2 separate regions of the Homo sapiens genome follow, and region 1 is linked to region 2. Evidence: promoter capture Hi-C in human tissues and cell types (Jung and others, 2019). All regions are on one chromosome and are shown on one strand. Each heading gives the region's core, a stretch centred on a gene start or on the middle of the fragment in contact. The rest is flanking DNA. Distances are from core to core; before and after follow the strand shown. Region 1 has its middle 39 kb from the start of ERCC4. Region 2 holds the start of SHISA9 (shisa family member 9).

Region 1 (2,700 bases), core at 165-2,664, 1.1 Mb before region 2:
TCAAACTCCTGACCTCAACTGATCCGCCTGCCTCAGCCTCCCAAAGTGCTGGGATTACAGGTGTGAGCCACCGGGCCCAGCTGACCCTCCTATTAAGATGGCAAATTCTCCAAATCACTTGCGTATGTTGAATTTGTTTGCCAAAAGATGGCAGCAGGAAAATGCTGGCCTCACCGAGACTGAAGGGAAAATGAAAGAAATAATTAATTCCTTTTGGATGAAGTCAGCAGTCAAAATGAAAGACCTTTCCCGCAAGGTTAGCAGTCAGAAGTAGATATTCCAGAATATCTACAGCAAGAGGAAGGAAAAGCCTCCTTTCCCATCATTAAGGGCATTTATCTGAAATAGAGAGAGATCATGTACTTTTCAGAAGATCATAAGCAAGTCCATGCATGGATACACGTTCATATTTTCCCACTTGAAGTTATTTACATTAAAAAAAAAAATCCGGGCCACTCCACCCTCATGGCTGCCTGCTCTTCGATTAACCTGGCTTGCCGAAAGACTTTGTTCTTTCTTTTGTGCCATCTAAGCACACACGTATTCATTTCTCCCTAAATTAATTTGCTCCCTGGTGTGCTGGTTTCCAAGCTTTAAGTCATTTCACGTGTGTGTGTTTTGTGGCCACAGCCCAATGGCACAGCTCTTGCATGCTGTCATGCTGTTGGCTTGACTCAACTTGAATTTGCTGAAACCTGAAGGCAAAAACAGCCTTCTCCTGTCCTGTGGCCGCCTGGGGTGGGGTACCTTGAAGGTGCTTCTTTTTCCTTTGCTACTAGGTTGGTGTAAAAGTAACTGCGGACAGGGCACGGTGGCACATGCCTGTAATGCCAGTGCTTTGGGAGGCTGAAGTGGGTGGATCACCTGAGGTCAGGAGTTCGAGACCAGACTGACCAACATGGCAAAACCCCGTCTCTACTAGAAATACAAAATTAGTCAGGTGTGGTGGCACATGCCTGTAATCCCAGCTACTCAGGAGGCTGAGGCAGGGGAATCACTTGAACCTGGAAGGCGGAGGTTGCAGTGAGCCAATGTTACGCCATTGCACTCCGGTGTGGGCAACAAGAGGGAAACTCTATCTCAAAAAAAAAAAAAAAAAAAAAAGGAATTGAGGTTTTTGCCATTGAAAATAATGGCAATAACTGCAATTACTTTTAAAAAATGTTTTATTTATTTTTTGATTTTCATTTTTTTTGAGACGAGTCTTGCTCTGTTACCCAGGCTGGAGTGCAGTGGTGCGATCTCGGATCACTGCAACCTCCTCCTCCTGGGTTCAAATGATTTTCCTGCCTCAGCCTCCCAGGTAGCTGGGATTACAGGCACTGGCCACCATGCCCGGCTAATTTCTGTATTTTTAGTAGAGATGGGTTTCACCATGTTGGCCAGGCTGGTCTCAAACTCCTGACCTCAAGTGATCCACCCACCTCGCCTCCCGAAGTGCTGGGATTACAGACGTGAGCCACCGCTCCTGGCATAATAACCACAATTACTTTTGCACCAATCTAATACCCAACAGCTCCCCCACCCTCCTCCAAATTTGTCACAACCTGGGTTTCACCTATCCCGACTGCCTTCATTCCCTTTTACCTAGTGAAATACGGAGTTGAGTAAAAATAAATGTTACCTACTAACACACACTCTGGGAGTCTGAGATCAGCATTGGATGCTGTGACCTCATGATCCCTTCAGGCAGGTACTCTGTGTGTGTTTGCACCCAAATACAAGCAATAGATCGGTATGGATGGGGAAGGGAGGAGGTAACACTGAACTTCATGATAAATCATAATAATAATTAACCACCACGCAGGATGACCAGTGCTCTCTTCATTGTTGCGTCAAAGGCCACCAGGCTATCTACGCTGATACTGCTCAGCTCCTGGTGTTGTGGGTCACTCCCTATAAATTCCCTCCTGTTTCATTCTGGCTGCTGGATGACTCAGTTTCTTCTTCTAATATTCTGTCTGTATCTTCCCTTCTTCTAAGTGTAGGCATTTTTAGCATTCTGTTAGTCGTTTACGGTTTCTTTACCTTAACCACTTACTTATTCAACCAATGTCTTCAGTTCTCATTTCAATGCAGGTGCCTACTACATCTTTTTTTTTCCTGCTAAACTATGTTTCTTCTAAAAAATATTTGAAGTATAATTTATATACAATACACTGCACATATTGAGTGTATGCTTTTATGATTTTGACATCTATACATTGCAAAACCATCACCGCTAAAATTACAAACATTTCTATCAATTCCAAATGAGTTTCTTTGTGAGCACAGCCAATTTTTATCCTTACTCTGGAAGCTCTATTGGTTTCGAAGGGATGTGACCTGATGCAGAAGCCCAGGGCTTAACATGGGGTCACTGATAATATTCAAGAAATCAACAGAACTCTACTCAAAAATCTACCTCTTTCTCAGGGGGAAAATTCCCAACAAGACTTGGGACTTCAAGTCTGACTCATGCTGTGTCCTGGGGCGCAGACTCGGGCTCTGATAAGAGGAAGTCAATCTGTCCTCTATTTGTTTATAATGAGTCATGCTCGAAGTCAGGCATCTAGTTTTTGTCTCTCCTCTGTCATGGTTAGGCAAGAATTGGAGGAAGATACACCCCAATTCGGAGTGCAGTGATCCTTAAAGTGTCCGAGGGCTCCAGTGTAGTTCAGGACGTGGGACTTAATGGGGACCCCTACCAATGGAGGCCGG
Region 2 (2,700 bases), core at 199-2,698:
CCCTTTCGGGCTCGCCTGCCCCTGTTTACCAAAAAGCTAGCACCTGGAATCCGAGGGGTGCCATGGACCCTCTCCCCAAACCCGAAGATTTCGGGGCCACGGGCTCCCAGGCTACGTGTCTCAAGTCCGCCTCAGTCACCAGCGGGAGGAGGCGGCCAGAGGGTGAGGGAGCAGAGTCACACACACACACACACACGCTCACACACACACGAACACGCTCAGACCCACACCTGTGCTGAGCCCAGCGCCCCTTCTCCGTGTTCCAAGCCGAAGTTGGCTTCCCGGTGACATCCCCCAGCGGAGAGGCTGGGATGCGGGGAGCGGGGACCGTGGGGAGCGCCATTGCCTGGGGGAAGGTGGGGAGGAGAGAGCAGGGAGAGCGAAGCCCCGAGGGGAGGGCGAAGGGGAGGCAGCCCACCTGGACATGTGCTCCCTTTGGGGCCGGTGCGCTTTCTCCAGCCCCAGCTTGGTGAAGATGCCCACGAGCACCATGACGGCCACCACCCCGCAGATGATGTAGACGATCAGGTTGGTCTTGTCCTTGGTGGGGTCGTGCAAGGGGTCGTCCTTGCGGGCGGGGGGCTTGCCGGTGTTGAGCCAGAGCGGCGTGTCGTAGTTGGTGCAGGTGCTTTGGTTCAGTCGCCGCTTCTTAAACGTGCAGCAGAACCGGAAGCCACAAGTCCCGCAGCAGAAGATGAAGTCGCCCGAGCTGCAGTTGAACGGCGGGTCCCACTGGCCCATGACATCGAAGTAGCCCCGGCAGAAGTCCGGCGTGGGCGCCCGGGTCGGGGGCGCGTCCGATGCCTCAGCGCCCTCGCTGGCCTCTCCGGAGGCGGCCCCGGAGCGGTTGCCCCCCGCCAGCAGCAACACGCCGCCCAGTTGCGCCAGCTGCCCGTGTCCCGCTCGCTCCTGCGCCCGGCACACGCGGGCGCACAGCTCGGTGAGGAAGCAACCGAGGAGCAGCCGAAGGACGCGGCGCATGGTGTCTCCCAGCCCGGGCTCGGCCGCTCGGCCGCCGCTGGAGCCTCTGCGGCCGCCTCTCGAGGCGCGGCCGAAGCTGCCGAGGCTGCTGCCGGGAGCTGCGAGCCGCCGCGGGCCGCACATGCAGGGAGCGGCGCGGGGCGCTCGGTGGTCGGCGGCCACTGCGCTCGGCTCAGCCCGCGTTCGCCTCAGCCCGCGTTCGCCTCCAGCGCGCCGCGCGCCGAGGGGCCGGCCGGGGAGGAGCGCGCCCGGCCGGGCGGGGGGAGGATGAGCGGGGTCAAGCGCGGGGTGCAGGTCCGGCCGGCCACTGGGTGAGGCGGGGGTGGAGAGCAGAGGAGAATCGGGCTGGCAGCGCCTAGCCTTGGCCGGCAGCCCCGGACTGGCCGCCCCTAGCCCTCTCGCAGTATCCCTCTCACCTCACCAGCTCGCCAAGTGCGCTGAAGAGAGCGAAGCGACACTTGTGGAATGAAGGGAGGGCAGGAGGGAAGGGGGAGGGGGAGGAGGGCGGGCAGAGGAGGCGCGGGTGGGGGGGGGCGGGCGCGAGCTCTAGAGGGGCGGGGGCGCGGGGAAGAGGTGACTAGAGCGGGAGCTAGCTGGGGGGCGTGCAGAGCTGAGCCAGGCGAGCGGACGGGGAGGAGCGAGCTCGGCAGCAGCCGAGGCTAGAGGAGCCGCTCGGATTTCCAGGCAGGTGGAAAACCGCGGCAGGACCTCCCGCGCCCTCTCTGGGTAGGAGGCGCGGCTCAGCCCTGTCCAGAGCGCAGAGGCGGCTCAGCTCGTAGCTTTTTCACCGGTGCGTGTGCAGGAGCGGCGGCCGAAATCTGTGCATCAGGGGAAGGATGACTCGGAGAGGATGGGGACAGACTAAATGGCTTTCACTCCAAGACAGACTGGGTGCAGTCTGGTCAGGATCGCCCCTCCCAGGCGTGCGGGGCCTCCTTGCCCTTCCCGGCTGCGCCCTCCAGCCCTGAGCGCAACCCGCATGGCTCAACTCTCTGGGCCCAAGCAAGGACCCAGGCGGAGCTGGGAAGGACAGGTGGCAAGCCCCTGAGCCAGGGATAAGCACCCTCCGGGGGAGAGGGGCTCGGGATGAACGAATCAAAGAAGGTCGGGGGTAAGAGGGGACAGCCGAACAAGGCCGAGGCTATGGCGTGTCCTGGAAGGTCTTTCCTTGGAAGTCCCCCAGCCTCTCGAACCTGCCGCTTTCTGTCCCTCTTCGCCCCCGCAGCGTTTTCTGCGCTCCACAGGAGGGAACACCGCGGCGCCGCCTCTGCGCTCCCGGATCTGGCGCAGCGCAAGGCCTGGGCACCCAGCCTCAGCCACCCTCCCGGACCTGGAGCCCGCGCATCGGTCTCTGGAGCTGGCTGGCCCCTGTCCCCACGGATCCCCCCGGAAATCCTCACCGGGGGCTGCAGAGCTCTGCCTTGCTTCCTCAGCTTCCAGCCTCCCGTCTCCTCTGTGTTTCCAAATCTGCCCTCTCTCTCCTAGCGAATTCCAGCTCCCCGGAGGCCCTCTCTCATTTCTCCCACCTCTTTCTCTCCTCTGCTTGAATTTGACTCCAGTAGCCCCAAAACAGGATTTGCACCAAAGCTGCTACACCAAATTTAGATCTCCCCACGCCCCGGCGTTTTGTTTTTTAATTGCATTAACTAAGTATACACTTTGCAGGCTGCTAGGCGATTTGCAAGGAGATAATGTTTCCACAACCCTCCTCTCCACTTG

What was found. Contacts are between HindIII fragments. The study calls those that stand out against the background at their distance.
Region 1: a contact is called between a fragment that was not itself captured here and the fragment with the promoter of SHISA9 in region 2, in 1 of the 25 tissues and cell types used here (lymphoblastoid cells).

What each region holds. Positions count from the first base shown.
Region 1 is chr16:13,957,774-13,960,473 of GRCh38, reverse strand. No RefSeq gene overlaps it. Among named protein-coding and RNA genes, the nearest start is that of ERCC4, 39 kb to the right of the region's middle. RefSeq lists enhancers at 2,665-2,700, 2,598-2,700. The HindIII fragment of the contact is 3,355 bases long and covers 1-2,700 here.
Region 2 is chr16:12,900,346-12,903,045 of GRCh38, reverse strand. It overlaps SHISA9 (shisa family member 9), which reads right to left and starts at 1,448. Exons shown (of 5, transcript NM_001145204.3): 1 at 419-1,448. The coding sequence starts at 981. The HindIII fragment of the contact is 6,671 bases long and covers 1-2,700 here.